Regions from separate parts of the Homo sapiens genome. Here region 2 is linked to region 1. The links are contacts of gene promoters, found by promoter capture Hi-C in human tissues and cell types (Jung and others, 2019). All regions are on one chromosome and are shown on one strand. Each heading gives the region's core, a stretch centred on a gene start or on the middle of the fragment in contact. The rest is flanking DNA. Distances are from core to core; before and after follow the strand shown.

What was found. Contacts are between HindIII fragments. The study calls those that stand out against the background at their distance.
Region 2: a fragment that was not itself captured here is called in contact with the fragment with the promoter of BAZ2A in region 1 in 1 of the 25 tissues and cell types used here (hippocampus).

What each region holds. Positions count from the first base shown.
Region 1 is chr12:56,627,443-56,632,618 of GRCh38, reverse strand. BAZ2A (bromodomain adjacent to zinc finger domain 2A) reads left to right here and starts at 2,293. Exons shown (of 29, transcript NM_001300905.2): 1 at 2,293-2,494. RefSeq lists enhancers at 1,987-2,056, 2,087-2,136, 4,915-5,176 and a silencer at 2,357-2,706. The HindIII fragment of the contact is 8,774 bases long and covers 1-3,797 here.
Region 2 is chr12:56,208,172-56,213,417 of GRCh38, reverse strand. RNF41 (ring finger protein 41) reads left to right here. Exons shown (of 7, transcript NM_005785.4): 4 at 2,850-3,121; 5 at 5,120-5,246. Among named protein-coding and RNA genes, the nearest start is that of RNF41, 11 kb to the left of the region's middle. RefSeq lists a silencer at 5,239-5,246. The HindIII fragment of the contact is 6,706 bases long and covers 235-5,246 here.

The DNA of each region.
Region 1 (5,176 bases), core at 1,044-3,543:
TGGAATAGTCCTAAAGGTTGCCCTGGAGACTAGGCCTGGGGCTCGGAAGGGGTGGGGGCGGTCAGTGGGGCACAGGAGTAACCGGCTCTTCCGGAGCAGAGTGGAGCCAGTGGTGGGTGTGTGTGGGTGTGGGGAGGGGCGTGGCTACACCCGTCTGACGGGCGCAGGCTCCTCCCCTGCCTGCCCAGTCCCCGACTGGCCCCCTTTAAGATTGGGAGCAGGAGGTAGGAAGATTCTCCCTCATCTGCTCTGGAAAAGGGCAGGGAAGACAAAAGGATACCAGCTTCCTTACCCACACCCCCATCCCGCCGCCCTTGAGGCCTCAGTTTTATGCCTTTCTTCACCTGCCTTAATTTTTTATTTGGGGATAGAGAGGCATTTCTTAGCAGAAGTTTGCCAGAGCCCTCCTTTCTCCAGAAGGAAGGAAACCTCTACCCTGAGTGTGACCTCTACTTACTCAGGGACTTGAGGTCAGCAGGCTGTTGGAGGAGTATTTTTTTTTCCCCAAGGTGACCTGTAAATCTGTTGTTTTGACAGGGAGGAGAGAAGGGTTTTGGTTTCCACCTGCCTATTCCCTCCACTGGTAATCTACTTATCTCGAGAGAGGAAGAGAAACCCCCTTAGCCTTCTGTGTCTGTGGCCCACACACTCTGTGAGCCTTTGCTAAAGCTAGCTTCCTTCTTATCCTCTCTGAGCCATTTGTAGTGGGGGGGTGGAGGGGTGGAGTCTTTCCCCAAAATTCAGGAAGAGCCCACCCCTCTGTGGAGTAAGGAAATCCAATGTAGACTGATGGATCTCACCCCCCAACTCTGCCCATTTTTCAGATCTCTTTCCTCCTCAGACCCCCAGAGGAAAACGTATTTGTTGACACCCCAACTTGCCAGAGTTTCATCATCCCCACTCTGTTGCTTTTCCAGAATATTCAGCAGCCTGAGCTTTGCACAGTTTAGGCAACTGTTTCTAGAACTGCATTGCATTGAATTAAATGGGAATTATCTTCAAGGCTGCAAAGTGTTGAGTTGCAAGGAAAGGAAACCTGGTTTCCTTTCTTGTCATATTTTATCCACTGTTTGACATTGAAGAAGTCATTGAACCTCTTTGGGTCTTAATTTCTTCATTTGATGAAGGAGAGAAGGTTGAACTAGAATTTTTTTTTTTTTTTTTTTTTGAGATAGAGTCTCCCTCTGTCACCCAGGCTGGAGTGCAATGGCGCGATCTCAGTTCACTGCAACCTCCACCTCCCAGGTTCAAGCGATTCTCTTGCCTCGGCCTCCTGAGTAGCTGAGATTACAGGGGCACGCCACCACACCCAGCTAATTTTTGTATTTTTAGTAGAGACCGGGTTTCATCATGTTGGTCAGGCTGGTCTTGAACTCCTGACATCATGATCCACCTGCCTCGGCCTCCCAAAGTGCTGGGATTACAGCCGTGAGCCACCGCGTCCGGCCTGAACTAGAAATTCTCTAAGCTCTAACATCATATGACACTGTTCTTCATCCTGGTGCCCTGCAGTGGACATTTTAGGTGACAGCCAAACTCTAGTCCTCTGCTAGATTTTACTTTTCTGAGTTTTCACACAGTTATGTAGCCCTGTCAGAAAAAAATTCCCAGAACCATAGAATGGGTGGACATTTGTGGCATCTTTTTGCTGATTAGTTTTCAGCTTATCCTTTACTTCTCTGACTGCATTTAGGCTACACTCAGGTCTTTGCTGTCTGGTTCCAGAGCCGAACCTTCTTTCCCCCACGCACAGGAATCTTTCCTTTCCGGTGACCAGGGCCCTGCAGATGTCGCCAGGAAAGTGGTGATCCAGGCAGGACCAGGCTGCACTGAAGGGACAGAGGTGAGTGGGTGGCTGACTCTTGCCTCTCCCCATCCCTTTACTGAATCGCGACCTGAGTGACTAACCTTTCTATTTCCACGTTTCCATTACCCTACCTGGGAAATAACTGCCCCCGAAATTCCCCTGACTCTTACCCCTACCAGCCTGTTAGAGAAGTGGCACCTGCCTTTGGGCCTAGACGTTTGGTCTAGTCTTTTAAGTTAACCTTGGGACTGTGGCATGCCTTTCAGTTTGCCCTGTGTGAAGCAGGACCACTGCCTCCATGAGATGCGGGTGCAGAGGGAGCTGCCAGGTGGGCAAGGTGGCCAGAGTTGCAGGAGGCACAGCGGCGCTAGGACCCAGGTCCGGGTCGGAAAGATGGGCTGGCGGGCTTTAGGACCCTGTGGCGGAGGCCGCGTGGGGAGACTCTCTCCCGGCCGAGGCTTCTCCGCCCCCTCCGGCTCCGACTCACTCCTCCCCCGCCGGCCATGTTGGCTCCTCTCGGGCCCCGCGGTTGAGCCGCGTCCCCCTCCCCCTTCCCGAACCCCGGACCCCAGACCCCCTCCCCAGCGGGCGTCTCCACCCGTTCTGGCGCCCGGAGCGCGGCCATGTGAACCGCTTGTACCCCGGGGAGAGACGAGCCCCGAGCCCGGCTGGACGCCGCTGCCTCAGGTTTGTGGGGTCTGTGGCCAGGGGCCTGAGGGGGAGGGAGCCCCGCTTTCATCCGAGGCTTCCCTCGGGGAACAGAAGCTCCAGAGCCGGCTTGAGCCTTGCCGGGGCGGGAAGCCGACGGGAGCTTATTTCCTGCGAGGATCCAACCCGAGGCGAGGGTCTCCTTGCTCTGGGGTCTGGGAGGAGAACAGGGCTGGTGGGGCTGCTGAGGACCCCGGACGGGGCCGCGGGGGCAGGAGGAGCTGTAGGGGCTCCCGGCGACAGTGAGGAGGCGGAGAAGCCGCCTGGCTGGTGGAGATGACTCCTGTGGGGGACTTGGGGTGGAATCCCCGGGAGGGGCTCCACCTCCTCGGGTGGGGGTGGGGATTGCCTGAGCGCGAGGGGTGGGTGAGGGGGTTCCCTTGGCGGGTTAAAACGCTCCGTTTGCGGGGAGCTGGGCGTTTTGACTGTGGTGAGTGGAGGGCGGAAGGGGTTTCCAGGGGTCTGAGGGTGTCTCCCTCGGGGAGCGCACCCATTCTCTTGAGCGTGAAGATCAGGAGAGGGCCTTCCTTGCTGAGGGTGGTGCTGCGCTTGGCTTGGGGCCCTCGCGTCCCGGGAGAATCGCGCACTCCGGGGATGGAGGTTGATAGGGCTTCCGCTGAGGCTTTCCAATTTGAGCTGGGCTGAGGGGCAGAAGGGAAGAATAAAGAGGAATTCCTTTTTCCAAGGAGATTCCTCACTGAGGGGATCCCCGCTTCCGTGGCAGAAAGATGATACCGCATCATCCCTTTCTTTCCCGGTGTTCCCAGTTTTCAGGAGAAGGCAATGTCAATAGCAGTTGTCCTTTGTAGGGTTAATTGGAGTGAGAGATTTGTCTGCTTTGGGGGACGACGGAGGGGATAGCTTTCCACCTCTATCTGTACACAAACAGCCCCTCCCCCAGCCTCCCGCAGGAAGTGGCCGGGAAATGGCAGCTGTGCGTTTGCTGCTGCGTGTCTTGTTGTTTTGAAATGTCCATTTTAATCAGATTTGGTTTCATTTTCTGAAGCCTTCTGGGCAAGCTTGGATCTTGCCAACCATGTGGCCCGAGAGACCTTTCGTTGGACTTTTTTTTTTTTTGTAAACTTGTCAACTGGAAGTAGTCAACTTCAGTTGACTCACGTATCCCAATCCCTTCTCCAGAACATCTCTGTCTTCCTGTCTGGTTTCGTTTTGTTTTCCCTTTAGCTAGAGGTCATAGAGAAGCAAACTCAGTTATCTACCAGCGGGGTACGCTCTATGTAAGTGATGCAAATTCCCTCAGCATAGAGAGCTGTCAGGGAGACTAGAGAGCTTTTGTGGCACGAGTAGCTTCTTGGGGTCCTACTTTAGTATAGTTATTATGACAGTTTCTATATTGCAGAGCACCTGAGCAAGTGAGCTTGTGAAGAAGGGTAGATTCTAAGAAATGGACGAAGAGGAAGGGGTGAGGAAGATTTAACTATTAGATGGATTTGTGTGTCGGGGGTAGGGACTGATTAACAGACTGAGATTGGTGAACTCAGTCCTTGGTGGTGATTCTAGCCTAAGGGCAGCCCCTGTGGGAAGCTTGTTATTTGACTAAGGGGTGCTGGAGATACTACCTTCTGCAGAATCAACTAATTAGAATAGTACAGTTTGTTATCATATGACTTACTCTTTAATCCATAAAAGAACGTCTCCCCTCTTATTCTTCTTGGAGATTGGTAAGCTTTTCCTCTGTTCCCTGCAAAGTCGTGCCCAGATTTTTTTTTTCTTTCTTTTCACTTGATAATCCCAGGATATTTCTCCTGTAACATATAGTGATGGACTGTGTGCTATGTCCCCAGGCATTTTGTGGCACACTGGATTTGGTTAGGGGCAACAGTTGGCCACAGAATTTTATTTTTCTTTCTTTTCTTTTTCTTTTCTTTTTTTTTCTTTCTGTCTTTTTTTTTTTTTTTTTTTTTTGAGACGGAGTTTTGCTTTTGTCGCCCAGGCTGGAGTGGTGTGATCTTGTCTCACTGCAACCTCTGCCTCCCGGGTTCAAGCGAGTTGCCTGTCTCAGCCTCCCGAGTAGCTGGGATTACAGGAGCCCGCCACCGCATCCAGCTAATTATTTTATTTTTAGTAGAGACGGCGTTTCATCATGTTGGCCAGGCTGGTCTCGAATTCCTGACCTCAGGTGATCTACCCACCTCGGCCTCCCAAAGTGCAGGGATTACAGGTGTGAGCCACCATGCCTGGTCTTCTCTTCTTTTCTTTTTTTTCTCTTCTCTCTCTCTTTTCTTTTCTCTTTCTTTCTTTCTTTTTTTTTTTTTTTGAGACAGGGTCTCACTCCGATGCCCAGGCTGGAGTGCAGTGGCGCCATCATAGCTCACTGCAGCCCCGACCTCTTTGGCTCAAGTGATCCTCCCACCTCAGCCCCCTGAGTAGCTGGGACCACAGACACGCACCACCACATCCAGCTAATTTTTTGTAATTTTTGTAGAGGTGGGGTTTTGCCAGTTTGCACAGGCTGGTCTTGAACTCCTGGGCTCAAGTGACCTGCCTGCCTTAGCCTCCCAAAGTACTGAGATTACAGGCATGAGCCACCATGCCCGGCCTATGACCCCAGGACCACAGGATTTTAGATTTTGAAAGATAAAGTTTTGTTTTTTTCTTTTTCTTTTTTTTTTTTTTTGAGATGGAGTCTCGCTCTGTTGC
Region 2 (5,246 bases), core at 2,338-4,837, 420 kb after region 1:
AGCCATCCTGGCCAACATGGTGAAACCCCGTCTCTACTAAAAATACAAAAATTAGCTGGGCGTGGTGGCACACACCTGTAGTCCCAGCTACTCAGGAGGCTAGACAGGAGAATTGCTTGAACCCGGGAGTAGGAGGTTGCAGTGAGCCGAGATTGTGCCACTGCACTCCAGCCTGGGTGACAGAGTGAGACTCCATCTCAAAAAAAAAAAAACAAAAACAAATAGGAAGTGGGGAACTGTATGTACTGACCTATTTTTTTCCTGGGATCTACTGAAAAGACCAGCTTTTGATACAGCCATGCACTCTGCATTTTGATGTGAAAGCTGCCACCTTCAATAGGTCATTTCTCTGCCAGCCTTGCCAGACCAGAGTCAGTTGTATCATCCTGGGGCAAGTATGAGGAGAAGCTCACGATTACCAGGCAAGTACAATGAGTGAGGTGAATCCTTAAGAGTTGTATTCATGGGACAGCATCCTCCAGGATCCTTATTGCCCTCATTCTGTAAATACCAATTAATCCTTTCTCTTTCCTGGCTATCTAGAGATTATCACATTTTCCAAACCAGGACACTAGGCAATGAGGTTTCATGGCCCTTCCCCCATTCACTGCTCACCTAACTCCCAGGGGCTCCCCTTGAGCCTTTATTTTTTCTCCCAGTACTACTCCAAAAGGAGTACTGATGCCTTGAGCTGAATAAAATTCAGACTGCATTCCAATGGCAACCAACTCTGGACCTGTCTTCTTTCTAGGCCTTTGCAGTCTGCTGCCATTAGAGGCATATTAGATGGGTGTGGAGCAAGTCATCAAGTAGTAGTGTCAAGAGGTCACAGGGTGTGTCAGGTTCCCTCCTCACCCTGGCAGGGCCTTGTCTGTTTTCTGGCACTATCATTTTAGGCAAGTCACTTATGGAAAGGTGAGTCGTAGTTGGTGACAGTCTAGTCAGAAGCCACCCATCTACCTCCAGGCTTTATCTTCTGAGGAGCAGAGCAGGCAACCCTCATGATGCCAGGTTCCCAGACACATTTCTAAGGTTAGAAGGCTCCTGCTAGGGATGCTGATTTCCCCACATCATAATTATTTATTTTTTGAATAGGTGAAAAATGAACATAGTTCAGAAATCAAAAGGTATACAGTGAGAATTCTCACTTCTGTCTTTATTACTGTGCACCTAATTCCCCCACAGATAACTATTTTTATTAGTTTATTTGGTATCCTTCCAGTGTGTCTTAAGGCAGATATAAGCAAATATGAATAGATGTCTGCATATATATGTATTTGTGTATACATATGTATATATGAATATATCTGTGTTTCACCATGTTGGCCAGTCTGGTCTTGAACTGATCTCAAGTGATCTGCCTGCCTTGGCCTCCCAAAGTGCTGGGATTACAGGCATGAGCCACCATGCCCGGCCTTATTTAGCTTTGTTTTGTTTTGTTTTTTTGAGATGGAGTCTCACACTTTAGCCTAGGCTGGAGTGCAGTGGCATGATCTTGGCTCACTGCAAGCTCTGCCTCCCAGGTTCACGCCATTCTTCTGCCTCAGCCTCCTAAATAGCTGAGACTACAGGCACCCGCCACCACGCCCGGCTAATTTTTTGTATTTTTAGTAGAGACAGGGTTTCGCTATGTTAGCCAGGATGGTCTCAATCTCCTGACCTCATTATCCGCCCACCTCAGCCTCCCAAAGTGCTGGGATTACAGGCGCCATCCACCATGCCTGGCCTAGCTTTCTTACATTGAATTTTTGCCAGTAAATATGTCCTCCTCCTCTCTAAATCTATCATCTGAATTATCCTTCAAGACCCATATCAAATTCTGTCCTCTTCATAAATACCTGCCGTGATTGAGCTAGCCTGAAAAGACCTCACCCTCCTCTGGACATTTTTGGCAATTATTGTGTATGCAATCCAGATGGCAATTAATAATTGGCTGCCTTGTGTCATCTGTCCTATTGTCCTAGAATATCATTTGTATCTCTTATTGTTATATAACTTTTTACTTGTTTGTCTTGTTTCACAACTCATTTTTAATCTTGAGCACAGGGAATATATATATATATATTTATTTATTTATTTTGAAACAGGTTCTGGCTCTGTCACCCAGGCTGGAGTGCAGTGGTGCAGTCTTGGTTCACTGCAACCTCCGCCTTATGGGCTCAAGCCATCCTCCATCCTCCCACCTCAGCCTCCTGGCTAGCTGGGACTATAGGCACGTGCCACCAGGCCCAGCTTTTTTTTTTCGAGATGTATTGCCCAGGCTAGAGTGCAGTGGTGTGATCTTGGCTCACTGCAACCTCCACCTCCTGGGTTCAAGCTATTCTCCTGCCTTAGCCTCCTGAGTAGCTGTGATTACAGGCATGCGCCACCACCCCTGGCTAATTTTTTTATTTTTAGTAGAGACAGGGTTTCACCATGTCGGTCAGGCTGGTCTTGAACTCCTGACCTCATGATCCGCCTGCCTCGGCCTCCCAAAGTGCTGAGATTACAGGCGTGAGCCACTGCGCCCGGCCTATGCCCGGCTAATTTTTGTAATTTTTGTAGAGATGGGGTTTTGTCATGTTGTCTGGGATGGTCTCAAACTCCTGAGGTCAAGCAGTGTGCCTGCCTTAGCCTCCCAAAGTGCTGGGATTACAGGCATGAGCCACCGTGCCCAGCAGGAAACGTATCTTAAGCCTGTCCCCTACAATGCCTTGCCCGTAGTAGATCTATACTTTGCTGTGACCCAGTGGACCTCTTGTCGTAGAGGCTGCTCAAAGGCTTGATTGGCTTTGTAGAGTTATATCATATCCAGGCTCTTAGGTCCTGCTAATTCCCTTGCGCCCCTTTTGCCTTGTTCTCTCTTCTAGGCACCTCATTGTGAACATGCTTTCTGCAACGCCTGCATCACCCAGTGGTTCTCTCAGCAACAGACATGTCCAGTGGACCGTAGTGTTGTGACGGTCGCCCATCTGCGCCCAGTACCTCGGATCATGCGGAACATGTTGTCAAAGCTGCAGATTGCCTGTGACAACGCTGTGTTCGGCTGTAGTGCCGTTGTCCGGCTTGACAACCTCATGTCTCACCTCAGCGACTGTGAGCACAACCCGAAGCGGCCTGTGACCTGTGAACAGGGCTGTGGGTGAGATTTGTTCCCTTCTGCCCCACATGGATAAGGGCCATCTCATTTATGCCCCTGTCTCTGGCTGCCCTCCTCACTAGCTGAGGAGGTCTCTTTGGCATGTTGGCAAGGAGTATTCTTAGCCTCCTTGGCTTCCTGCTCTAAGATCTTACTTTCTTGCTGCTTTTCCAACTATAATCATTTTGCTCTTGCTTTAACAAAAGAAGGGGCACAGCAATTTAGTAAATTTGTGTAATAACATTAAAGCTTGATTGACTCTATTCTTCCCTTTCAGTCCAATACTACTTTCCGTTTGTCAGGTTGACTGCTATAATTGCCAGCCTTCTCATATTTCCTCTTGCCCTATTTTTTTATTTCTGTGGGTTATGAAATATTCGACTAAATGTTGATAGCTGAAGGGCATGTTAGCTCACACCTGTAATCCTAGCACTTTGGGAGGCCGAAGTGGGCAAGTCACTTCAGGCCAGGAGTTCAAGACCAACCTGGCCAACATGGCAAAACCTTGTCTCTACTAAAAATACAAAAATTAGCCAGGTGTGGGGCCGGGCGCGGTGGCTCACGCCTGTAATCCCAGCACTTTGGGAGGCCAAGGCGGGTGGATCACGAGGTCAGGAGATTGAGACCATCCTGGCTAACACATTGAAACCCCGTCTCTACTAAAAATACAAAAAACTAGCCAGGCGTGGTGGCAGGCACCTGTAGTCCCAGCTACTTGGGAGGCTGAGGCAGGAGAACGGCATGAACCTGGGACGGGGAGCTTGCAGTGAGCAGAGATTGAGCCACTGCACTCCAGCCTGGGCAACAGAGCGAGACTCCGTCTCAAAAAAAAAAAAAAAAAATTAGCCAAGTGTGGTGGTGCTCGCCTGTAATCCCAGCTACTCAGGAGGCTGAGGCATGAGAATCACTTAAAACCAGAGGTAGAGGTTGTAGTGAGCTGAGATCGCGCCATTGCACTCCAGCCTGGGTGACAGAATGAGACTCTGTTCCCCCTAACTAAAAAATAAAAAGAATGTTGATAGCTGGGGCTGTGAATATAGGGCTTCTCTGAAGGAATAAGTGCACAGGCAGAATCTGTAGGAGGAAAAGGAGAGCTGTGCAGTAGATAAAAACAGTGTGTCAAAATAAATAAATAGGCCCCGTGCGGTGGCTCACGCCTGTAATCCCAGCACTTTGGGAGGACGAGGCGGGCGGATCACCTGAGGTCAGGAGTTCAAGACCAGCGTGGCCAACATGGTGAAACCCCATCTCTACTAAAAATATAAAAATTAGCCAGGTGTGGTGGTGGGCACCTGTAATCCCAGCTACTCGGGAGGCTGAGGCACAAGAATTACTTGAACCCATGAGGCGGAGGTTGCAGTGAGCTGAGACCGTGCCATTGCACTCCAGCCTGGGTGACAAGAGTGAAACTTGGTCTCGAAAAAAAAAAAAAAAGGCCAGGCGCGGTGGCTCACGCCTGTAATCCCAACACTTTGGAAGGCCGAGGGGGGCAGATCACGTGAGGCCAGGAGTTTGAGACCAGCCTGGCTAACATGGAGAAACCCCATTTCTACTAAAAATACAAAAAGTTAGCCGGCCATGGTGGCGCGCACCTGTAATCCCAGCTACTCGGGAGGCTGAGGCAGGAGAATCGCTTGAACCTGGGAGGCAGAGGTTGCGCTGAGCTGAGATCATGCCATCGCACTCCAGTTTGGGCAACAAGAGCGAAACTCCGTGTCAAAAAAAATAATAAAAATACAAAATAAAATAAATTTAAAAAATAGATAAAACACTGTGTCTTGATTGGGGAAAGAAATTTAAGGAAAATAGACAGCAAAGGGGCAAGTAGGAAGCTTGGACGAAGAAAGTGAAGGGAATAAACAAGAGGGAGGCCTGAAATGAATGTTAGAAATTTTGGGTAGGACAAAATCTACTTAGCAGTTATCTGCCACAGAATAGGCCATTTGCATACATGTCCCAGGGATCACCTCTGTTCTGCTCTTTCCCCACCCTGGTCTGCAGCCTGGAGATGCCCAAAGATGAGCTGCCCAACCATAACTGCATTAAGCACCTGCGCTCAGTGGTACAGCAGCAGCAGACACGCATCGCAGAGCTGGAGAAGACGTCAGCTGAACACAAACACCAGCTG